5 separate regions of the Homo sapiens genome follow, and regions 2, 3, 4 and 5 are each linked to region 1. Evidence: promoter capture Hi-C in 16 types of primary human blood cells and fetal thymus (Javierre and others, 2016). All regions are on one chromosome and are shown on one strand. Each heading gives the region's core, a stretch centred on a gene start or on the middle of the fragment in contact. The rest is flanking DNA. Distances are from core to core; before and after follow the strand shown.

What was found. The method cuts DNA at HindIII sites, captures the fragments that hold promoters and counts their contacts. A CHiCAGO score of 5 or more calls a contact.
Region 2: a contact is called between a fragment that was not itself captured here and the fragment with the promoter of FXYD6-AS1 in region 1, in 14 of 17 cell types (non-activated CD4 T cells, naive CD4 T cells, total CD8 T cells and 11 more). The highest score is 11.1, in non-activated CD4 T cells.
Region 3: a contact is called between a fragment that was not itself captured here and the fragment with the promoter of FXYD6-AS1 in region 1, in 1 of 17 cell types (non-activated CD4 T cells). The highest score is 5.8, in non-activated CD4 T cells.
Region 4: the fragment with the promoter of IL10RA here is called in contact with the fragment with the promoter of FXYD6-AS1 in region 1 in 6 of 17 cell types (naive CD4 T cells, M1 macrophages, monocytes and 3 more); the score reaches 7.6 in naive CD4 T cells.
Region 5: a fragment that was not itself captured here is called in contact with the fragment with the promoter of FXYD6-AS1 in region 1 in 6 of 17 cell types (monocytes, M1 macrophages, activated CD4 T cells and 3 more); the score reaches 7.3 in monocytes.

Annotation. Positions count from the first base shown.
Region 1 is chr11:117,831,071-117,836,027 of GRCh38, forward strand. FXYD6-AS1 (FXYD6 antisense RNA 1) reads left to right here and starts at 2,648. Exons shown (of 3, transcript NR_186291.1): 1 at 2,648-2,991. The region is part of intron 6 of FXYD6-FXYD2 (FXYD6-FXYD2 readthrough); the gene reads right to left. The HindIII fragment of the contact is 9,424 bases long and covers 1-3,893 here.
Region 2 is chr11:118,071,495-118,076,451 of GRCh38, forward strand. All of the region lies in intron 1 of SMIM35 (small integral membrane protein 35), which reads right to left. Among named protein-coding and RNA genes, the nearest start is that of TMPRSS4, 3.1 kb to the right of the region's middle. The HindIII fragment of the contact is 763 bases long and covers 1,952-2,714 here.
Region 3 is chr11:118,031,767-118,036,723 of GRCh38, forward strand. All of the region lies in intron 1 of SMIM35 (small integral membrane protein 35), which reads right to left. Among named protein-coding and RNA genes, the nearest start is that of TMPRSS4, 43 kb to the right of the region's middle. RefSeq lists an enhancer at 1,740-1,819. The HindIII fragment of the contact is 6,184 bases long and covers 1-4,957 here.
Region 4 is chr11:117,983,044-117,988,000 of GRCh38, forward strand. IL10RA (interleukin 10 receptor subunit alpha) reads left to right here and starts at 3,351. Exons shown (of 7, transcript NM_001558.4): 1 at 3,351-3,491. The coding sequence starts at 3,425. RefSeq lists enhancers at 2,779-2,838, 4,229-4,528 and silencers at 3,029-3,128, 3,149-3,428. The HindIII fragment of the contact is 8,039 bases long and covers 2,064-4,957 here.
Region 5 is chr11:117,967,779-117,972,735 of GRCh38, forward strand. No RefSeq gene overlaps it. Among named protein-coding and RNA genes, the nearest start is that of IL10RA, 16 kb to the right of the region's middle. The HindIII fragment of the contact is 956 bases long and covers 2,049-3,004 here.

The DNA of each region.
Region 1 (4,957 bases), core at 1,398-3,897:
CTGGGGACAGGGAACCCCTCTCTGAGACACCTGCTCTCCTGCAGAGAGGTTGCGGCCCTTCCACCTGTGGCCCATGTTCCTGAGAGCAGCTCAGTTCAGGAGGGTCTCTCCTCCTAGACACCACGCAAGGCACCCTGAGGGCCAGACACACCCATGCATAAATCCCCTTTCATCCTGAGACTTTGCTGAGGACTGCCTGACCCTGGGCAAGGGCACCCCTCTGGGTCTCCTCCCACCTGTAAAATAGGGTAATAACACCTACCTTGCAGTATTGTTGTGGGAACAGAGGCAAGGTAGGTCAAGCGTTTGGCCAGAGAAGGTCCTAAAAACTGATGGCTGTGTTTTCCTTACTCCGAACTGAGCCCCCCAGGAGACAAGAACACTCACAGCAATCCCTTCCCTTGGCTCAGTCCCCAGTTGCGGTGATCTCTAAAGCAGGCCTCTGGGAGCACCCTGCCCTGGTATGATCCTGCTGGCCACAACTCACCCTGCATCTCCAGCCTCCCTTTCTTCTCCACACAAAACCAAGAAACCTCCTTTGTCTAATGGTTCCAGGATGGAGACAAAGGAGCATCCAGCTGTGCTCTCCTGTTCTCTGCAAGACCCAGAGCTCTGGGAGATGTTGGGAGGTAGAGGCAGTGCCCACTCCTGGATGCGTCAGCACTGTCACAGCTGATGGGACCGTGCCCTCAGTGGCGAGGCCTCCATCTCCCCTGTCTCCCCTAGGCAGGCCTCCCTTTTGTCTCCTGACTCCTAAGTCTCAGGGCAGTCATTTGGGGTGGTCGTTGCTGGGTTGGTGGGGCAGGGAGGAAATAGGCTGGAATCCAGCTGACCTCTGTTTTCCTGGTGATCAAAGGCAGAGGCCCTCACCACCAGCTTCCCAGAATGGGGTTCTCCAGCTCCGCCAGCTCTGGCCTTTGTGGGAGTTTACAGCCTTGAACTCCAGGTCCCCAGATCAGTTCCTCCTGGTGTTGGCTTGCAGCTGGAAAGGGGCTCCAATGAAGCAGAAGCCAGAAGCACCTAGAAAGCCATGACCCCAGGCCCAAGTCAGTCCTCAGCTGCATAACCCGTATGGCCACTGGGCAGGGAAAGTGGCAGTTCCCAAGCCCCATTTGTCCCACTCAGAGGTCCTGAATCCTGAGGAACGCTGGCTCCTGCCTCCTGCTATGGTTGCAGGTGCCAGGTCCCTGGGGTCTTATAAGGCAGGGCTGGAAGGAGGTGGGCCCCAGAGGGTCCATTCCTTAAGTGTTGGCTTCAAGAAGGCCTGAGCCATGGTGCACAGAGGTTCTGAGAACTGCCAAAGGGCAATGTACTCTGAGAGTCAAGGTCACCAGCTGGTGACAAGGGCAAACCCATTTGACCCACCTCCCCCACAGTGAATGCCTTGGAGAGAAATGCATTCTTGACTGTTCTCAGAACTCACATCCAGGCTTGAACCACAACAGAGCCCATTCCTCTCCAGCTTTTCTTGGTTTTCTCCTCCCAGTAACCAAACTCCCTCTCACCTCTGGGAGAGGCTCGCCACCTCCGGGAAGACCTCGCGGAGCAAGCCCACCCCTGGTTACTCTTACCTTCCCTCCACCACCTTCCGGATGCCACTGACATGGCTTGAATGGCCAGCATGTGGCCGTGTCACCATTCTCTTCATTTATAGCACAGATTGCCAAGTCCCTGGCCTCCTTGAGGCCTCAGGTCGGGTAAGCTGTTAAACGTTTGTACCTGCACTGAGCCTGGTGCCCACTCTCCACACTTGGCAGCAATTCCACCCTATTCCAGGGTCTCAGTGGTTCCAAAGAGCTGCTTAGAGCCTCCCAACAATTCAGCCAGGCAGGCTGTGAGATGCCCATTTTACAGAGGACACTGCAGGTGGTCTGCAAACAGGTCAGAACATGAACCCAAGTCTAACAGAGACAAGAGGAACCCGGCCATCAGAGAATGAGGAGACAAGGAAATGGATAGTGATGCCAACATTTATAGCATAATGGCTACATGGAGAATTGTCACGGTGCTTCGATGTCCATTGTATCACTTTGACCCTGTGAGATAACAGAAAACATCTTGATGCATTTATTTTATAGGTGATGAAACTGAGGCTTAAGTGGCTTTTCCAGGGTTACACAGTGAGCAGGAGGCCCAGCTTACCCCAAAGCTAGGAAGGACTTGATTATTCAGAAAAGGAAACTGACAGAGAGGCTGGGGTCTTTCCAAGCTCACACTGTTAGAGCAGAAGGGACCTCGGGGATGTTCTGAGCCTCAGGCTCTACCAGACTGCCTCCAAGCCCAGCTCAGAGGTAGGAAACCGTTCTTCTGGATAGTGCAGGGGGGCCCACCCCCTCCAGTCCCTGCCATCCAGGTCCTTCAGGACATGCGATCACAGCATCACCTGCTCTGCCATCATTGCCTTGGCAGGTGCCCCACTGTTGTGCAACCAGGCCCGGGGCTGGGCTGGCCCCATCAGATCAACAGCTGGTTGGCTTGAGCCGGCTGAGTCTGCCCCCCTGGAGCTCAGCTGTGACAGCAATAAATCACACTAATGGAGAGAGGTGGCCATTCCTTCTCTGTGGCCTGGAGACAGGTTTTTCCAAAGCTCCTCCCCTGGCTCAGGCAAACACACCTGACCTTTCTCTCGCTGGGCCCAGGGTGAGGCAGAGCAGCCAGGAACAAGGTGGGGTGAACCAGACAGAGCTGGAGTGCTCTCCCACCCCTGCTTTGCCCAGCCTCCCCGCCAAGCCCATGATTCCAAGCAAGGTAAGGCCCTCCTCCCAGAGGAAGGGGCCAACAGCCCGGTGACCTTGGAGTGTGCTTCGCCTGGCACTCCCCTCACACCGCTCCCTACAGCTTGTACTCTGCCTCTGACTCTCTTCCAAGAACAATTTGGCAAGTTCTAATCTACATCTTGCAAAAAAAAAACAAAAAACAAAAAACAGAGAGGTAGGAGGGCCACAGCACCTGGGGTCCCAGAAGGCAGACTGACCTATTCCTACAGCAGGGGTAAGTAACGCAGAAAACCTCCAGGCAAAGAGACATGGAGATCTTCGAAATGGAATGGGGGGTGGAGGGAGTCACTGGGAGGCAAAAGGTGTGGGACACCTGAGGTTACTGAGACAGGGAACTTGGGATTCCCTTCTGGGAAATGACACAGCATGGCAGCTGTCCTTCTTATTCAGTCAAGCTACATTGCCTCATTAAACCAAATCACAGCTACAAACCAGTGCCACATGCCTGGAGGCTGAGTGGACACTCCTGGTCCTCCTCATGGAGATATATAGCACTCTGAGTTCTGATCCAGCTCATCTGTGTGAAGTCCTCAAACAAGCACATAGTAAGTGCTCCATAAACTTCAGCTGCTCATTTTTTTTAATTATTACCATTTTGACCATCATTTCTTCGATTGTTCTTCATGTGTCTTGTTTCCAGACCATTAGACTCCCACAGGAGGCTCCTTGGAGCATGGTCCAGCTAGTTTATGTCTTGAAGGGGCAGCCATGCTCCAGGTGCAGTCTTGGGAGCCATCTGATCACTGTCCCTTCTTCTGAGCATCTGCCTGCTGAAGGAGGCTAGGCCATGTGCTGACAAGCACTATGGACAGACAGCCCGGGGTCAAGTCCTAGCTCCTCCATCCCCCAGCTGTGTAACCTGGACCAGGACGATTGTATCTCTGACCAATCTCAGAATATAGCTGGATTACTAGGAGGAAAACTAAGTGAGTGCTTAGAGGCGGGCAAAGTAAGGATAACCATTTGTAGATGATGTGCTAGAGATGCTGACCATCATTCCTTACTCTTAACATAATTATTATGAGAAAAATTAGAACCTCCTCATTGGACTTCCTTATTCCTATGTCGAAGTATAATGTTCTGTTTTTACTAACGTATGGGGGGCGGCACACACAAAGCTTTGCATGTCTAGGGCCTCTAGGGATCTCAGCCTGGCCTCGCTATGAAATTTCTGCAAGGCCTGTCAATTCCCTGATGTATCACGAGTGTTCCCGAACAATAAGCTCATTTACCAGGTCTTGCTGTGACCAGATAGTTTTTAATCGCCATGATCACTGGGTTGACAGGTTGAGCTTGAGCTCTACCATAAGCCTGTGTCTTTCCAAAGGCCTGGGGGACCGAAGGCAGAAGCAAGAGCACACGTAGAGAAGGCACCGAGCAAGCGGATCTGTGCGGTTCTTCGGTTCTAAACAACTTGCGGAATCCAGGCGGACTCAGGGCCTGTGTGGCCACTGGGCAGGGAAGGTGGTGGTTCCCAGGCCCATCGAAACCACAAGGAGCACTGACTTCTGTCTCCTGCTATAGCTTCAGGTGCCAGGTTCACTGGGGTCTTAGAAGTTGGGGCTGGAAGGAGGTGGGCCCAGAGGGTCCCGCTCCTTAAGTGCTGGCTTCAAGATGGAAGATATTAAGACGTTCCAGGGGTCGATTCTTTTTTCAAGACCCTAAGATGTTCCAGGCTTCTGTAGAGCAGGCACAGTCCTTGCCCTCCAGGAATTGTATCAATAAAGACACAAAACACTAGAGGCAGAAGCTGCACACAGGCAACCTCCACGCAGAATCTGCCCACATCTGTGTTGGTTTGGCCAACAGTGGTTTTTAGAAAGTTGAGTCAGAGTGTCTTTGGGAGGACACCGTAGGTGACTGCAGGTGCCATGCCCCATCGTCACTCCAGCAGATTCACATATTGGCATTACCTGCCTGGTCTCTACAGTCTGGATGCCAAGTATGAAGTGTGAATATAAAGGCAGCAAACAAGTGTGATTGGGGCACAAGAAAGGGATTCGGCTGGGCGCTGTGGCTCACGCCTCTAATCCCAACAATTTGGGAGGCTGAGGCAGGCAGATCACTTGAGGCCAAAAGTTCGAGACCAGCTTGGACAACATGAAGAAATCCCGTCTCTACTAAAAATATAAAAATTAGCCGGGTATGGTGGAAGGCACCTGTAATCTCAGCTGCTCAGG
Region 2 (4,957 bases), core at 1,083-3,582, 240 kb after region 1:
ACACTGGGTTCCCTCCACGCTGCATTCCAGAGCTGCTTGGTATGAGTGAGCCTGGGCTGTTGCCAGCTCATGCCCACCCACTGCGCCCTTCTCTACCTAATTTCTTGGAAGAGATGTGAACAAATGAGCCAGTCACTGAAACTGATCTCAATTTACTTGGGTTCAAAGGGAAGAACCATAGGCTCTGCTGGCTGGAAGGAACCTCAGGGGTTCATCTATGTCAAGCTCCAGTCTCTGAATTCAGCTCACTTCAGAAATAATAGCCTCTACCCACTCCTGAGTGTGGGAAGAGACCTAGAACAGCATTGCTCAAACTTTAAGGTGAATTCAAATCACCTGGGGATCTTGGAATGCAGACTCTGACTGAATAAGAGTGGGGCGTGCTGAGATTCTGCACTTCTAACCAGCTTCCAGCACTGGTGGCATTGCTGGGTCCATGGGCACACATACCTTGAGCAGGAAGGATCTACAGGGCTTGCTGCCCTCAGAAGCTCCTAGAAGGGAAGGGCAGTATATGGGCAGACTGAGCTCTTCAAGGCAGGAGATATTTTATTTTTCCCAACCACAGTGTCTAACCACATTGTCTGATATCATCATAGAAAATACTTGCTGGCTGGCTGGATGGATGGGTGGATGGATGGCCAGGCACATATAGACAGATGAGTGGGTGACTGCTGATACTGAGATCAAATGCACAATCAGAAACAACTGGCAGCCAGGCACCGTGGCTCACACCTGTAATCCCAGCACTTTGGGAGGCCAAGGTGGGTGGAGCACCTGAGGTCAGCAGTTCGAGATCAGCCTGGCCAACACGGCAAAACCCGTCTCTACTAAAAGAAAAAAGTTAGCTGGGTGTGATGGCAGAGACCTGTAATCCCAGCTACTCCGGAGGCTGAGGCAGGAGAATTGCTTGAGCCTGGGAGGCAGAGGTTGCAGTGAGCGGAGATCGTGACATTGCACTCCAACCTGGGTGACAGAGCTAGACTCCGTCCTCAAAAAGAAACAACTGGCAATTGATATATCATCCTACAAATTACTGTAGCTAAGCAAAAATATCTAGGGGAAAAATGAAGGCAGGAAGAAAGAAGGAAATCAGGCAGGGAGGAGAGGAAGGAGGAAGGGAGCAGAGAGAGCTGTAAAAATGAAAAAAGGTTTCCAAACCCCCAAGTGTTCTCTTTTTATCTCTACTAGAACATCTTTTTAAGCTTACTGTGATGTGTGGATGTCTCCTGTCTCCTTCAGTAGACTGTAGGGTGTTTGTATTCAGAGCCTGTGTTTTATCTCCTAATCCACAGTGCCTAACACAAGAGGTAGGCCTAGCATGAGCTCCATAAACACACATTTTGTGAAATGAATGGGGATAACAGTGCCATTTACAACATCTCTCTTAGGCACCAAACACTTCACATGGAAGTGAAGGTCTTGTGTTGTCGTTGTTGTTTTTGAGACGGAGTCTCGCTCTGTCACCCAGGCTGGAGTGCAGTGGCAAGATCTTGGGTCACTGCAACCTCCACCTGGGTTCAAGCGATTCTCCTGCCTCAACCTCCTGAGTAGCTGGGATTACAGGCACCCTCCACCACGCCCGGCTAATTTTTTTGGTATTTTTAGTAGAGTAGTTTGGTATTTTTAATAGAGGTTTTGCCATGTTGGCCAGGCTGGTCTCAAACTCCTGACCTCAAGTGATCCACCTGCCTTGACCTCCCAAAGTGCTGGGAATACAGGCATGAGCCACTGCGCCCAGCCAGGATTATCTCTTAATCTTCATAACAACCCTATGAGGTCAGAAGTATTGTTATCCCCACTTTACAGATGAAGAAGATGGCGTGCAAGAGGATTAAATAAGATGCCCATGGTTACGCAAATCATTAGTGGCTGAGATTAGGAGGCAGGACCCCAGGCCACTAGAGCTCAAGCTCTTGACCAGGGAGGATTCAGGTTTTGAGAGGCCTGAAGCTTATGCATTTTGAGGGGCTTGGTTTTTTTCAAAAAGCAACAGACTCTTTAATGTGGTTTAAAATACATCCAGATCAAGTCCCCGGCTGTTGTGAATGCCGAAAAGAGACAAAAAAGCTGCCGGTGCAGCTTCAAACAAGTCTGAGCGTCAGGCTGGCCCATAAGGAAAGCAGTTGCAGGGACAGGAGGCAGCCCCCTCCTCCAGGAAGGGCAACAGGAGCAGCCGGGTGCCTGCCTGTCCCTGGGGTGACCGCCTCTGTGCTGTGCAAGGCGGGAGGGCTGTGGCAATAGGCCTTGGACCTCCCCCATGGACACCAGCGAGTTCCCCTGGCCTCTGGGTCAGCCCTCAGCAGCGCCGCCATGATGGGGTGGAGGAGGGTTAAATAACCATCTTTACAGAAATAATATTCTCCTGCAGAACGTGTCTGAGCTCAGACCATTGTCCAGAAACCTCATAGAAAACAAACAACAAAGTTTTTTAAAGTGCTGCTGACACCTCTCAGAATCTGGTGTGCATAGAGCTCTCAGCTGGACGAGACCTGTTGGTCCTTAAACTGAGGTCACCTGTATGGGACCAGCCTGGGTGAGGAAGGCTCTGGCCTTCACTCACAGGGATAGGCCACTTCTTGAGGGGCTTTCTTGAAGAAAAAGCACGTCAAAGAAATATTCAGCAAAATTTACAAAAACGTATGATTGTGTGAACATATTGCCGGGCCCTTTCCCAGGGCCCTGGAAGGAACCGTGCAAGTGAGGGGCTCTGAAGCTTCAGCTTCAGGAGTTTCATGATAACTCTGCCTCGGATCTTGACACACATGCTGGAAACAGATAAGGAAAGGGAAGAAGGAAGAGAAAAAAATGTCAAAAATAAAGAGGAAGAGATAAAAGAGAAGTAATGGGAGGGAAAGAAGAGAGGAAAAACAGGAGGAGGATCTAAAGAGATGGATGGGCAAGAGAAAGAAGCAGGCAGGACAGGGCTGAGGGAGAGCTGAGGCTTCCTCCGGGAGAATGGGGGTTCTGGGCCGGGTGCGGTGGCTCACACTTGTAGTCCCAGCACTTTGGGAAACCAGAGCGAGTGGATCGCTTGAGCTCAGGGGTTTGAGACCAGCCTTGTCAACATGGTGAAACCCTGTATCTACAAAAAATACAAAAATAAGCCAGGCATAGTGGCTCACACCTGTAATCCCAGCTACTTGGGGGACTGAGGCGGGGGAATCCCTTGAGCTCAGGAGGTGGAGGTTACAGTGAGCTGAGGCTGCACCACTGCACTCCAGCCTGGGCAACAGAGGGGGACCCTGTCTCAGAAAAAAAAAAAAAAAAAGAATGTGGGTTCTGGTCCAGCTGGTTTTCCCTGGCACCTGGGAGAGGTGGGCCTCTGTTGTCTCCAGGCCACTGTGCCTCCCTCTGTAAACCTTCACCCCCACCTGCAGGCATCACAGCCACCCTGCCCAGTCCTGCTTATGTGCCTTCTTCCCGGACCTCTCCACAAACTCCCAGACCCAAATGGGAGCAGAAGCCAGGAGGGCTGAGTCATCATCCCTCCAACCAGCCATGCCCAGCAGCCTTCATGCCCAGACAGCTGCCTCTTTCCTGGTTCATCACCTGAGCACCAGGTAAAGCAATGCAAACCTGTGGGCCAGATGTTTAGCCTGGCACATAGAGGAACCAAGACAACTGAAAACGTGGCTCCCAGTGGCCCACTGGCTTCTCACTGCCCTGCTGCTGGGGAGGTGCCTGCCTGGACCATCACGGCCCTGACCCTGAGGTCACCTGAGATCACAGGCTCTTGCCTCTGCCCAAGACTTCCAACTCTCAAGGCCACCAGCCATCAGTAAGGAAGGGCTGGGGCTGTGCTGGCTCCAGAGCCCTGCAGGCCAGCTTCAGATCTCTGCTGCTCAGAGACAAGTCCAAGGCCACACTGCATTCATCAGCTGAGATTTGGCCAATAATCCATTACACAGATCCGGTATTCCTCCTGCTCAGACATCACTGGGGTCCTCCATGGGCCATATTATCCCAAACCATGAACCTGGGGCTTTCAAACACTTGTGTTCCATTCAGCCTGTTCACAAGCCTGGCAGTGTGAACCAGTAAGAGAACCAGGTTCCAGCCCCAACTCTGCCCGAAACTACTTCATGTCCATAGGCTATAGTTTCCTCAGCTGACAAATGGGAACAAAATATTGGGGTTGTTGTTGGAGAATTAAAGGGCTGATACACAGAAGCACGTTATCAACAGAAGGACAAATACACACGTCTAACCCAGGCTGGTCTCCTGGGAGGGTCAGGTCTGAGAAATGGAAGGAGATCTGGATTCATATGGAACCAGACACTAATTCATTATGTGACTTTGGGTCATTGACTTTGCCTCTCTGGAATTTAGTTTTGTCGCCCACAGAATGGGGGAACAATGTGGACAATTATCCAAGTCTCTCCCAGCAAAATATCTGTGGCTGTAAGGTTTCACCTTGCACATCCCCTGGCCAGGGGGCAGCTCCAGCTATCAGGATGTGGCAGAACGTGAATCAGAAATGATCCTGTGGGGCTGGGTGCGGTGGCTCACGCCATAATCACAGCACTTTGGGAGGCTGAGGCAGGTGGATCAGTTGAAGCCAGGTGTTTGAGACCAGCCTGGCCAACATGGCAAAACCCCATCTCTACTAAAAATACAAATTAGCCAGGCATGGTGGCGCACAACACCTGTAATCCCAGCAGCTACTTGGGAGGCTGAGGCAGGAGAATCACTTGAACCTGGGAGGTGGAGGTTGCAGTGAGCCAAGATCGCGCCACTGCACTCCAGCCTGGGCAACAGAGACTCTGTCTCAAAATAAAATAAAATACAAAAACACAAAACTTAGCTGGGTGTGGTGGCAGGTGGCTGTAGTCCCAGCTACTCGAGAGGCTGGAGCACGAGAATTGCTTGAACCTAGGAGGCGGAGGTTGCAGTGAGCTGAGATTGCGCCCCTGCACTCCAGCCTGGGGGACAGAGAGAGACCCTGTCTTAAAAA
Region 3 (4,957 bases), core at 1,822-4,321, 200 kb after region 1:
ATCAAGTGACCAGAGTGAGCTTCATCAGTAATGAGACAAACAGAAATGGCATACCACCTGAGGGGAGGCGAGGAGAAGAAACCAGCATCGGCCAGGCATGGTGGCCCATGCCAGTAATCCTAGTGCTTTGGGAGGCTGAGACAGGAGGATCTCTTGAGGCCAGGAGTCCGAGACCAGCCTGGGCAAATGGCGACACCCCGTCTCTAACAAAAAAATACAAAAAAAAAAATTAGCTGGGTGTGGTGGTGCGTGCCTGTGGTCCCAGCTACGTGGGAGGATGGTTTGAGCCCAGGAGACAGAGATTACAGTGAGCCAAGATCACACCACTGTACTCCAGCCTGAGTATAAAGATCATTCAAGAGAAGATTGAGAAAATGCTCCAGACTGAAGCAGAATAAAAAGACATGACAACTAAATGCAACTTGTGATTCTGAATTGTATCCTTTTGCTGTAAAAGCCACTATCGGGGCAACTGACAAAACTTGAGTAATGTGAGAATTAGATGGGAGTAGTGTATTGTTATTAATTTTCTGATTTTGATCACTGTGTCATGGTTATGTAGGGAAATGTCTGTAGGAAATACATTCTAGAGTAATACGAATAATTATATATGAAAAAGCAAAGTTTAAGTGGATATAGTAAAATTCTTTTAAAAGACTATATATTTCATGATATGCATTTTAATGTATATATACACCTTATTCTTCTGGACAGATGCAGAAGAAAAGTAATGTGATGATCTGGGAGAGGAACTGGGTGGTGGTAGGAAAGAGCTTTTGTTTTTCATTTTATATCTTCCTGCATAGTTTATTTTTTTTTGCCAGGTACATGTATTACTCTAATAAAAACAAATACAGGAGGCTGGGCATTGTGGCTCACACCTGTAATCCCAGCCTTTGAGAGGCCGAGATGTGGGGATCACTTGCGGTCAGGAGTTTGAGACCAGCCTGGTCAACATGGTGAAACCCCGTCTCTACCAAAAAATACAAAAATTATCCAGGCGTGGTGGCAGGCGCCTATAGTCCCACCTACTCAGGAGGCTGAGGCACGAGAATCACTTGAACTCAGGAGGTGGAGGTTGCAGTGAGCCGATACCATGCCACTGCACTTCAGCCTGGGCAACAGAATGAGACTCTGTCTCAAAACAAAAAACAACAACAAAAAAAGGAGTTTTCTGGAGAGTGAGATTATGTGTCATTTCTGTTTTTCTTATTTTTTTACATTCAAAAAACTAATACATAATAATGTTAGACATTTGCATGCACACGCATGGAAATTTTTATTTTTCTCTCTACAGTTAAGGCAAAAAGTGAATAAGGATCAGCTCTCATCAATTAAGTCAGGCTTTGAACAATTTTGGTAGCAGAAAGTCTTTACCTGGTGTTTTATTTAATTCAGGCTTTTTAATTTAAAGATCTGTATGAGGGATTGTTCTTGATTAGCGATTAACAAGGATTCTAGAACACATAGACAGACTTCAAAACAGTTTTGTCAGGACCATGTAGCTGAGAAAAGCCTCTTGTTTATTAATTTAGGTCTACGTTTCGATGACTTTTTTCTCACCCAAACCTTACCCTGTGGAATACTTTTTAAAATCTACCCTTCTGTTTTGGTCAAAGTCCTTTGACAAGCATCAGACTTAGAGGCTTTCAACACAGTTTAAATAGAATTTAAATTCGATAAATTCCTGTGTATTTTTTTTCCTATTTCTTTACAAACTGCCTTCTCTGTATAGTCAAGGGGTTTTTTCTGTTTTGTTGTTGTTGTTGTTGCTTTGGCTTCCAGAAAATGTCCCTGTAAAATCAAGAAAGTTTAGGGCAAGGCCTGCACTTACTCAAACATGGAAGGGTGAACGCAGATTTTGGGTTTCAGTGATCTCCTGATACCGAAAGAAAAGTGCCTCCCTCCCTCGGGGGCACTTCAAGATGACAGTTTCAAAAGGCACTTCAGGTGAAAGTGTAAATGAAATTTCAAAAGACCATCAGTCAGTAAGAAATCATTCATAGAATTCTACAATCCTTTGGCAATATAGAACAAAAGTTAAGTGTTTGGGTGCTTGTGCCAAACAGATGTGAACTTGAATCTCAGTTTTACCAGTTACTTACAATGTGTCCATGAGCAAGATACTTAATTTCTCCGAAACCCAGTTCATTTGTCTATGAAATGGAAATAATAAAAGTACCCTAACGCCTGGAATTACCATAGATTTATTTAAAATAGGCCAGGCGCAGTGTCTCACTCCTGTAATCCCTACACTTTGGGAGGCCGAGGCGGGCAGATGACCTGAGGTCAGGAGTTCAAGACCAGCCTGACCAACATGGTGAAACCCCATCTCTCCTAAAAATACAAAAATTAGCCCAGGCATGATGACAAGCACCTGTAATCCCAGCTATTCAGGAGGCTGGGGTAGGAGAATCGCTTGAAACCAGTAGATGGATGGAGGTTGCAGTGATCTGAGATCGTGCCATTCATTGCACTCCAGGCTGGGCAATAACAGTGAGACTCCATCTCACACACACACAAAAAAAGAAATAAAATAAAATAATACATGTCTACTACAAATAAAGCACTTAATAAATATTAGTTGTTGATTACTTTTTTAAAAAATTGTCACTGTCTCAATTTATATTCCAAAAACTCACCATTCCAATTATGGGTTACAATAGGCTTAGGGGGCTCAGCCCAGTGGCTCATGCCTGTAATCCCAGCACTTTGGGAGGCCGAGGCAGGCAGATAGCTTGAGCTCAGGAGTTCAAGACCAGCCTGGGCAACATGGCAAGACCCCCATCTCTACAAAAAATACAAAAATTAGCTGGGCGTGGTGGTTCACATCTGTAGTCCCAGCTACTTGGAGAATCGCCTGGGAGGCAGAGGTTGCAGTGAGCTAAGATTGTGCCACTGCACTCCAGCATGGGTGACAGAGCGAGATCCTGTCTCAAAACAAACAAACAGGCTCAGTGTCCACAATGTGAAGGGTGAAAGTAGGAGGGAAATGGCTGCTTTCTATATGCACCAAGCTATTCACCCAAAGAATGACAAGGGGGACGAGGAGCCAACCACCTTATTATAACACCAGCCCAGGATGGAACTCTCAGGGAAGCTCCCCTTGGAATATGTGTCCATTAGACTTGCCAGTTAGTAAGTCCAAATTGCGGTTATGAATATAAGTGGTGAGGAGTTTCCTTCTGAATTTTTTTTTTTTTTTGACAGAGTTTCACTCTGTCGCCCAGGCTGGAGTGCAGTGGCACAATCTCAGCTCACTGCAACCTCCAACTCCTGGGTTCAAGCGATTCTGGTGCCTCCGCCTCCTGAGTAGCTGGGACCGTAGGCATCCGCCATTGTGCCCAGCTAATTTTTGTATTTTTAGTAGAGACGGAGTTTCACCATGTTGACCAGGCTGTTTTTGAACTCCTGACCACAAGTGATCCACCCGCCTCAGCCTCCCAAAGTGCCCGTCTGAAATTTAAACAACTTTTCCACCAGTTCCACATTAGCTCTAAGTAGAGCCCCAGGACTTTCTCCCTGCCCACCTCTCATGCCAGCCCTTGAATTCTGTGCCCCAAAGAGCATTAATTTCCATACTCAACAAGGATTTATGGAGTTCTTACTGTGTGCCAGGCCCTGTACTAGACACTGGGCATAGAGTGGTCAAGGCACATAGGAGCGCTGCCTTCATGGAGCTCATGTTCTATGAGGAGGTATGTTCAACAGATCAGCACCCTAATAATCGGTTGCTCAAAAACGTATGTTCTATGAAAAAGTACAGGGGGTCCAGGTGCCATCAGAACAGAAGGACCTGCGTGGGTGGGGCATGCCTGCCCCTGCCAGTCTCTAGGGGCCTGGCCAGGCTCTCCCCAGCCAGTCTGCCCTCCTCAGGTGTGGAGGAGTCTCTGGGCCCCAGGAGGATTCCCTCCTGGAGACTCACACAGTGCTCCCTGCTCACGTGTTGTCACAGCCCAGAAATGACTGAAACAAAGCATTCTCCTGGACCTCAGCATGGGGGATCCTCCAGGCAGGTGCTAAGTGTGCAGCCGTGGGGTGGTCAGTGCTTTATGCCAGCACTTCTGGAACTTCTGGATGGATATAGGGACTATCATTAGTATCCTAATATGTGGTGTTTGTTTGTTTGTTTGTTTGACAGAGTCGAGTCTCGCTCTATCGCCCAGGCTGGAGTGCAGTGGCACAGTCTCGGCTCACTACAACCTTCGCCTCCTGGGTTCCAGCGATTCTTCTGTCTCAGCCTCCCAAGTTGCTGGGATTACAGGCACCTGCCACCATGCCTGGCTAATTTTTGTATTTTAGTAGAGATGGGGTTTCACCATGTTGGCCTGGCTGGTCTCAAACTCCTGACCTCAAGTGATCCACCCGCCTCGGCCTCCCAAAGTGCTGGGATTACAGGCATGAGCCACCATGCCTGGCCAATACGTGGTGATTTTTAAAAAACCATAAAATTGATTCACAGTCCACTGACCCTTACAGATCTAGATATACCCTTACCAGAGAGAGAACTCTGATGAGGAAATGCTGGTAAATTACCATTTTTCTAATTGCTGGTGAGTCTGACACTTGGTGAGTTTTCAGCCAGTTTGTTAAACTTTTAATTAAGTTTTGTTTATAATAAAAATATAAATGGATTTGAAAGTTTCCATTTTTTTAAGTTACCTTTGTTTTACAAAGGTATTTTCTAAACACATCTTTAATGGACTATTTAACTGAATTTAAGGAATTCACACATGACAGCTGACAGGTCTTCATGCAGGCTGATTGGTAACGTGCTGCCAGCACAGGGCTGGGTGATGCATACACCCTAAGCTGGGGGTGCCTGGGGAGAAGGGCGCTCCTTGGAGTGCCCCTCCAGCTGCAGGGCAGTGAGGTGCCACTTGTGTGAGCCATCAGGGAGGCAGCTGGCCATGGGGGCAGAGGGTAGCAGGAGCATCATGGGGCCTTTCCATCTGGG
Region 4 (4,957 bases), core at 2,101-4,600, 150 kb after region 1:
AGATATCACTCTCCCCCATCCATGTAGCTGAGGCACCCCTGCCTTCGCTGACTATCGTCAAGAGTGAGGTCTTTCTAGTCCCAATGTAGACTCTTAGATACAGGATGGGATCTCCCAACTCCCACCCCCAGCCAACCTGGCACACTTTCAGTCCAGGCCACTGGGCAGAGAGATTTCCGCTCTGAAAATATTGAAATAGGGTTTATATCTCCACAAACCATGGGGATAATGCCTCACTAACTCCTAGACCACGCACAGTGCTGGTGTCACACACCTAAGTTAGGGGCCCTTTCTCAAAAGCTGCAGTAAATAAGGCCCTCCATGTGGGCATTGGGCACTGCCAGGGAAACCTCCCAGGAGCAGGTGATAGTTACAGGAGGCAGTCAAATGCCTAGGCAGATAGGGCGGGTCCCTGGTGAAACCCCACCTCCAAGTTGAAGACAACTTAAAACCTGAAAGCCAAGCTGCAAGTTAAATCTTCAGACCAGATTGAGAACCTGTCTTCCCATTTGGCACGCTTTCCTCTGATTGATCCCCACCCTTCACCTACTTTACATACACCTACCCTTTCCTAATTGGTTTTCTACACTGTCGTACCCACCTTTGAGTGGTATTTTCACTTTAACCTTTTTTGCATACTCACAAACCAATCGGCATGCACTCCCTATTCTGAGTCCAGAAAAAGCCCTGGATCCAGCCACACTGAGAAAAAAAAACACCCAACTGTGGGAGCGGGGAACCACCCCCCTCCCCATCCCCTCTCTGCTGAGAGCTGGTCCATCACTCAATAAAATTATTCTCTGCCCATCCTCACCCTTCAACTGTCAGCGAATTCTCATTCTTCTTGAACACAGGACAAGAGCTCAGGAACAAATGAAGGTACAAACTACAATACAGGCAGGGCGGGGTATGGCCGGGTGGGTGGGGCAGCAGGCCTGGAGTGGGGCCTTGCTGGCCAGAAATGTCCTGAGCCCCTCTTCTTTGGTTTGTCTGAGAACAAGGGCAGGGCTTGAGGGATGCACACACAGTCCCAAACACACATATGCACTTGGCAAACAGACAACGTTCTCCACACCACAATGAAATCCAAATCCACAGACTGGCCACTGCAAATCATATATGACTGCAAGTGCACACACACACACACACACACACACACACACACACACACACTTTGAAGCAGGTGTCAGCCTCCAAGAAAAAGTGATGGACAGTCTGTCTCTCATATCCTCACATATTTGGTTCACCTGGAGATGGCCTCAGATGAGCCAAGTGACACAGAGGTGCGAGAGACTGAGGATGTGCTGAGGTGTTACCCAGCACTCCAGTAGTGCTATTACCCAACACAAAAATTGGTCTGAATATCAGATTTCAAGCAAGCAAGGGAAACCCAGAAGAGACTGGGAGAAGTCCTTATGGAGGCTAAAGCAACTCCATGTTGGATGCTAATCCACAGTTTTGGCCGTGTTGGCTTTGGAGCCTCCCAGAAGACCTCTGAGATTCCCAATTTATCAATTGCTCCTTGTGTAAGTGCAAACACTTACTGTAAATCCGGCCCTTAGGTCAAACAACCTTGATGTTATCATACTTCAACTGTCCTACACATCTTTTCTGAATCACCCTTCCCCTGTGGTCTATAAGCCCTGGTCCTGGGGGTGAATCATGGAGACACAAACGTAGCTTCTGTTTATAAGTCCTTATTAAATGTTTTTTTCGAAGAAACTGGATGTGTCAGCCTGTAACCTGCAAAAGGATCTGGCTGCTCTCTGCTTGTAGAAAGAATGGATAATAAAGGAAAATCTGCTAGCTGCCATGCTAGCAGGGGAAGAGCAGCAAACAATTCCACTCTTCAATTCATGGGGGGAACGCAGGGGTTTTTTAAGAAAGGATCTGAAATGCAGAAAAGGCAAGGGGGAGGTTAGGAGGTACCAGGTGGTGTGACTTGCTCCAGTGGTCCTCTTTAATTATCGTCTTATTTGGTGGAGGGGCTGGTGCAATCGTGGATCCTGCCAGGTTATAAATTAGTTACTCTTCAGCAGGGTATATGTTCAACTCCTGAAGTAAGCTTTTGTTGGAGAGAGAATTCCGGAGGTGCCTGGTCCCTATCAGGACGCAGCTCCTGAGGCATCTAAGGAAATATATGACCAGGTAAGAGCATAGCGTGTGCTTAACAAGCACGTAGGTAAATAAACGTGCGTAAGGCATGGGAGTACAGTATGGGACAGGAAAGGGAGTGGAGGTCACAGCACGTCCTGAGGCTGTGTTTTAAGATGAGAGGTAACATACATGCAGTTTGTCTCAAAATTATATCTTGAGGCCCAGAGGAGGAAGAGAAAAAAGGAAAGAAGAGAAACTAAGTTTAAAACACGGTTTAAGGCTGGGCGCGGTGGCTCACCCCTGTAATCCCAGCACTTTGGGAGGCTGAGGCGGGTGGATCACCTGAGGTCAGGAGTTCGAGACCAGCCTGGCCAACATGGTGAAACCCCGTCTCTACTAAAAATACAAAAATTAGCCCAGGCGTGGTGGCACATGCCTGTAATGCCAGCTACTCGGAAGGCTGAGGCAGGAGAATCGCTTGAACCTGGGAGACGAAGGTTGCAGTGATCCGAGATCACGCCACTGCATTCCAGCTTGGGCGACAGAGCGAGACTGTAAAAAAAAAAAATAGATAAAAAAATTTTAAAAATCGCGGTTTGAGGCTCAGCTGCTGAGCTGCTGGTTAAAAGCCTCTTTCTTGGGTCTCTCAGCTTCCTGGGACTTTGGGGGCAGGTCTGCATAAACTGCTTAGTTGTGGACCCCCCTCCAACAATTAGGTAGGGGACTACTCAGTATTCATCCATCGGTGTCCTCAGACCCCCAGACGGGGAGGCCCTGGGGCAACGCCAAGACTCACACCGGCGTCCTGGCGCCTTTGCCCTCAAGGGCCTGCAACTACCTCCTCCCCATTCGGAGCGGCCGCGGCCACATCCTTAACGCCAAGCCGGCACGCCAGGCAAAAGCGGCTCGGACGCCCTCACCCCACCTTCCGCACTCAGGGCCGAGGCTGTGCCTGGCCACCTGCTTCCCAGCACATGCACACACGCGCGCGCGCACACACCCACACACACGTACCCACGGCCGGCCGGGCTACCCGGACCACTTTGATCCGAAGGCACTGGAGGCCCAGAGGGAAGGAAAGGGAGGGGTGGCCGGAGCCCGCTAGCGCCCCAGGACAGCCTCGGGTTGCCCCAGGCGGTAGCCCTGTGGGACAGTGGTTCCCCGTCCGCGGCCTCGGGGGCGGGGCGTCTGTAGGCCTCGCCCCGCTGACGTCAGCCCTGCGGGGCGCTGGCGGAGCGGGCGGCGGAGCTGTCAGTCCCAGCCCAAGGGTAGCTGGAGGCGCGCAGGCCGGCTCCGCTCCGGCCCCGGACGATGCGGCGCGCCCAGGATGCTGCCGTGCCTCGTAGTGCTGCTGGCGGCGCTCCTCAGCCTCCGTCTTGGCTCAGACGCTCATGGTAAGGCTCCGGGACGCGGCCCTTCCCTGCCCTGCCCTCTCCGCGCCCGCTCCATTAAAGTTCTCCATCCAGTGGAGAGCCCTGGCTGGCTGGCCCTCTGGCAGAGCGGTGCCCGGGTGCTCCCTTACTCTGGCAAACCTGGATCTCAGGCTCACCTGTTGTGGAAGTGGAAGAGGCTGAAATTGACAGGAACTGACGGATTGGGAAGGATAGAGAAGTATGCGCAAGGCCAAACCCCCAACCCGCAAACCTCATCATCCACCCACTTCTAGATGAGCCGTAAGTTTAGCTCTAGGTTTTTTGCTGTTTAGGTTCAAATGATGGGACTTCTTGTCCCCTTGGGGAATAATTTTGATCTCCTGACTCTCCCTTCTCTTAGTCGACTCTTCAACTAACCTCTGTCTGTCCTTCTCCCATCTCACCTTCATCCCTCACTGATCACCCCGATCTGATCCCCCTTGCTCCACCTGTAGCCCCCAACTCACTCCCACTGCCCCCTGCCTCTCTCCTCCTAACCCAGCCAGTTCAGGCTTCTAACCCAGTTCAGGCTCCTAACCCAGACAGTTCTCCGGCAAGGTTTCTGCAACTAAGAAAAGTAAACCCCAGAGACAGAATGAAAGAGCCGGGAGTTGGAAGGACCAAGAGCAGAGACAGAGAGCAAGGACCGAAACTGCTTCTTCATGACACCAAAATACAAAGTAAAACATGCAGTCAGCCATTCACGTGATCGAGAGCTGAGTCGGAGATGTGCAGCCCAAATACCACAACGACTCGCTGCATTTTTCACTTTCCGTCTAATGTTTCGAAATCAAGGCACTGACGTGAAGATCAAAGACGGTATAAGAAAGAAAGCAAGAGACAGATGACAGAGTCCTCCCCCCCAAAAAATAAATAAAAAACAGGTGCATGATTAGAGAGATGTAGAGAAGTTAGAACACTAGGGAGCGGGAGCAGAGTCGCTGTCAAATGGAGAGAACTTAGAGGATCAAGGAGGAGAGAAAGGGAACCAACCAGCCGTTGGCCTTGCACATACTTCAGTCTGCTTGATCAACAAGACTCTTAAAGTAGAAATGTTTGTTGCATTCTTACAAAGAAGACAATGCCTTCAGCAGTGTTTCCCATGGTGAATGGTGTGTACTGGGGGTAAAGGGAGAGTAGAGCTAGGAATTGGTATTGAGTATCTCTCCTCGGAGCTACAGGTGCCAGCTCTTGTGGGGATGTCCTCAGCCATGTGTAGAGCCAGAGCTGATTTATTCCATCTGTCCTTGCCCAGCCAGAGGTTGGACATCTGGCTATAGGCAAAGCCCTCCCAGAAACTAGGGAATGAGGCAAGCACTTAGCTTGGGGAGCCCAGGAGACCTATGAAGAGAAGGAGGCAGATGTCAGCAAGCAGGCTGTCTGTGTACTTAGTGAGGTGGCTTTGAGCTGGAGCCTGGGCCAAGCCAGGGTGGGGATCAGGTGTGTGG
Region 5 (4,957 bases), core at 1,277-3,776, 140 kb after region 1:
CATGCCTGTAATCCCAGCTACTGGGGAGGCTGAGGCAGGAGAATTGCTTGAACCTGGGAGGCAGAGGTTGCAGTGAGCTGAGATTGCGCCAGTGCCCTCCAGCCTGGGCGACAGAGTGAGACTCCATCTCAAAAAAAAAAAAAAGAGAGAGAGAACATACTACAGAGGGTTCTCATATACCCCACATCCATTATTAACATCTTACATTAGTGTGGTACTTTTGTTACAATTAATGAACTTAATATTGATATATCATCACTGACTATAAAGTCCATACTGTAGTCACATTTCCTTAGTTTTCACCTAACGTTCTTTTCCTTTTTTTTTTTTTTTGAGATGGAGTCTCGCTCTGTCGCCCAGTCTGGAGAGCAGTAGCATGATCTTGGCTCACTGCAACCTCTGCCTCCCAGATTCAAGCTATTCTGCTGCCTCAGCCTCCTGAGTAGCTGGGATTACAGGCGCCCACAACCACACCCAGCTAATTTTTGTATTTTTCAGTAGAGACGGGGTTTCGCCATGTCGGCCAGGCTGGCCTCGAACTCCTGACCTCAGGTGATCCACCCTCCTCGGCCTCCCATAGTGCTGGGATTACAGTCATGGGCCACCACGCCCAGCCCTAATGTCCTTTTTCTACTCCAGCATCTGATCCAGGGTGTCATAATTAGTTGCCATGTCTCCATAGAATGCTTTTGGATGTGAGTCTCTGGGTTTTGGTGCCCTTGACAGTTCTGGTGCATACTGGTCAAGTGCAGTGTAGGAGTTCCCACTATTGGAGTTCATTTTATGGTTTCCTCATGGTTATCTGGGGCTGTGCGTTCTGGGAAGGAAGACTACAGAGGTTAAATGCCGTTCTTGTCACATCACATGAAGGGTGTATACTATCAACGTAACTTACTGCTATTGATTTTCATCTTATTCAGCAGGCTGACGTTGTTTGTTGGCTTCTCCACTATAAAGTTATTCATTCTCCACTTTCTATGCTGTATTCTCTGGAAGGAAGTCACTGTACAGCCTGCACTTAGGAAGTCACTATGTGCAGCCTGCACTTAAAGAGTGAGAAGGTTTTCTTCCTCCACCACCATTGATGGCAGATTATCTATGTAAGTGATACGAAATTCTTGTACACGGGAGATCTGTCTCTTCTAATAGCTGAAGTTTTAAATATTTTATTCAGAATTTATAACTGTTATCAGCCAAAGGGTGTTTGGAAATAGCTTGTACTGGAATAACCCTTTGGCTGATAACAGTTTATAGACTCTGAGCGGGATCTCTCATATCTAACATTTGTTGGACACTTACTTGGTACCATGCACTGTCCTAAACATCATTCACATATCTTATTTCATTTAACCTTTGCGATAACTCTACATAGTATTATTATGCCCATTTTATGCATAAAGAATCAGAGCCCTACTGGTGAGCCCCACTGCATTCCCGTGTGTGCCTTGCACACCATACTTTTAAAATTTCAGTGAATTTCCTTGCCGTATTTGTCCATGAGGGTTTTGTGCTGCTAGGTGAGCCCTGCTCTCACTGGTCTTGTTCATGCATTTCTGGTTCCCCCCCCTTCCTTCCCTGCTGGGCCTGGTTGTGTAGTAACTGGGTGCCCAACTCAGCATGCTCCAGAGCCAACCCCAGAATTCAGTTCCGTGATTTCTGATAGGTGCCTGAACTCTCAGACACAGACTATGAGACCCTGGCCACCATAACAGTCCCAGGGAATGAGGGGCCATAGCCTGACACCTCCACTCACACATAAAGTACCCTTGCCACCCAAGGGCAAAAACAGCACCTCACACCTATGAGGACCTGAGAGATCTAGAAGTCTGTTTCACACTCTGAGCAAAATCCCCCACCCAGATGTTAAAAAGGCAAGAGGGCAGGCAGGGAGTTGAAGACTCAAAAGCCACTATGGTTGGAAAAGAAAACCAAACCAAACAATTTGTGGACGGTTAACCCACCTGCCCACAAAACAACCCTTAAAGAAGGACCCATGAGGTATGGTGGGGCTCAGCCAATTTTCACAAGTATGAACCATTTAACGCTCAAGCTTTCACCCCTCCTTACTACCACCCCTAGTGCTTTGTGCTGGGCACCACAATGAGGTGAAAAGACAGCTTGGGTGCAGAATCTCATTTGATTTTTACAAAAGCCTTAGGAGGATGCAGGGCAGGGATTCATACCCTCACTTTATCATAGAAATGGAGGCTTAGAGAGGTCAAGTGATTTGCCAAGCATGGTCCAGTAAGTGAACATGCTGTCCAACTCCATCTTGGACTTTATATGGAATGGCTCAGTGGAAAAGACTGGAGCCATTCCCATTAAAAAACATCAAGTAGAGGCACCTAATAATAGTGGCCGATCAACAAAGATGCACATGAAACTGTTGGTCAAAACAGCACATTCTTCCCAAAGCTGGAGCACTTAGGAAGATGAGAATGTCTAGTGTTAACCAAGGAAGGTTCTCCATAAGCAGTGTTGAGTATTCTGCAGAAGGGGGGAAGAGAAGGCACAAAGAAGGCCAAATAGCTGCACACTCCCAGGACTGTGTCCCCACTCTCTGACTGCCATCTCCTAGAGAGCTTGCCTGGCTGGGGTCCCCATACAGAAATCATCTGGTGGCCTGTGCAAGGAAACAGCCAACCTCAGAGTTCTATTCCCACTCAGACATGTCTCTGCGGGTTGCCAGCATATGGCCCACTGCCTAGCACACAGTGGGTGCACACTAAATGTCTGTTGACTGGAATTAGCTGATAAATGTTTGCTGACTGAGGCACAGACAGGTGAAGTCACTCTTCCAATATTACACAGCCAGTAAGTAGCAGAAGTGAGATTCAACCCAAGTCAACAGACTATTCAGCACTTAACCCTCTCTGTTTTCCCCTCCACCATACAGCCTCTTGCCCCAAGGACCAGAATAATGTTGTTTCCTCATCCTATTCCTTCTCATTCCCAACACAATGTGTGCCACACGGTAGGCTCATAAGAAGTTTTTGTTGACTGAAGCTTAGCGGTCTGCCCCAACACTGAGCCTGGGGAGTTTCCTTATTAAACCACAAGCCACACTGAGCAGGAAGTGGAGGGATGGGCCTGAGTCAGGAATAGGAGGAAGAGGCCCTGGATACAGAGCAGTAGCCAAGGGTGAGGACTGGGGTAGAGGGTGGGGAGGAGGCACACCACAATAGTCTCCACACAATCTTTGAAACCCCACCCGCCACCCCAGGCCACCCCAAGCCCTGCACAACCTGCCAGAGCCAGCCATACCTCCGTTCTGCCATCTGTCCCCTCCACCTGGAAGTCTCTTCCTTCCCTCTTTGAAGGGAAGGTTACCCCAACTCATGCAGATTTAAGGGTACTTCCTCCTGGAAGCTTTCTTGGCCTCCTTACCAGGTAAAACCCCAAATACAGGCTCTCATGGCACTTACCACAGTCGCAACTCTGCGTTTTATTTGAGTGACTATTTGATTCACATCCATCTCTCCTTCTAAACCGCAAGCTCCTGGGGGGCTCTCCTTTGCTCACCGTGTATTCCCAGCATCCTGCACACTGCCTTGCACTGAGGAAATAGCCAGTGACCCTGTGTCGAATAGGGAATGACTGAATGAATATAGAGATGAATGTTGAAACTGGAACACTCTCTGTGGTAGGATGAAAATGGCCCCCAAAAGATATCCAGACCTAATCCCTTGAACCTGTGAGTGTTACTTTATATGGGAACAGTGTCTTTGTATATTGGGTCTTGAGATGGGGAGGTTATCCTAGATGATCAAAGTGAGCCCTAAATGCAATTGCATTGGAGCTCTTAAGAAATTTTTGGTATAAAAAAGAGGCAGGGAAAGATTTCACTCTCACACACACACACACGCACACACGAAGGCTAGCCACCAGGAGCCAAAAGAGGCAAGGAACACATTCCTTCCTAGAAAATTCCAGCCCTGCCAGTACCTTGATTGCAGCCCAATGAAACTGATTTCAGACCCTCCAGAACCAGGAGAGAATTCATTCCGTCATCTTAAGCCACCCAGTGTGTGATAATTTGATATAGCCTTGGGAAACAAATACACCTGACCTCCAAAACCCTCCTCACCCTGACCCCCAAAACCCTCCTGCCTTCTCCGTGTCTAAGCACGTCAGATTTATGGGGGATGGAATAATCTAGAATAATCTGAAATAATTTTAAAAGGAAAAAAGAAAAGGGGATCAAGAAGAAAGAGAGGAGAGGGTGAGTGTAAGGAGGGCTAAAGCCCGAGTGTGCAGGGGGATCATAATTTACTCAGAAGCTGCAGGAAGAAGAGCCCTATGTCCATGCCTCTCTCGACTCTCCTCCAGGGAATGTTCTCCACAAGTGGGGGAGGCTGAGAGTTCTCGAGTTCCCTGTCTGTCTCTCTGTCTGTCAGCCAGTAGCCATGAGCCCCATGAAGGAGCCATCCCTCACTTAGGTGGGCCTCACTCACTGGGCGCCAACCCCTCCCACACCGGCCGGGCACGCCCTTACCTGGAGGCCTGGCACTTGCTGTTCCCTTTGCCCACAACACCCTTCGTTCAGATATCCACACGGTTCATTCCTCACATCCCTTGGGTCCTCATTCTAATGTCACCTACTGGGGGAGGCCTGCTGCCCACTCTATTTAAAATGGAGGTGGAGGCCAGGCGCAGTGGCTCACGCCTGTAATCTCAACATTTTGGGAGGCTGAGGCAGGTGGATCGCTTGAGCTCAGGAGTTCAAGACCAGTTCGGGCAACATAGGGAGACCCTGTCTCTATAAAAACCTAAAGAAAAAAAGGAAAAAAAATGGAGGTGGGGGAGGGAAAAGGAAAAAAGGAAAACAAAAAGGCAGCCCTCCCTCCCTACTCCCTAAACCCCTTTCTTACTTTATTGTTCTCGGTGGCGCGTATCACTGTCTGACATGCTACACATTTCTCTCATGTATTGACTCTTGGTGTCCGTCTCCTCCTGC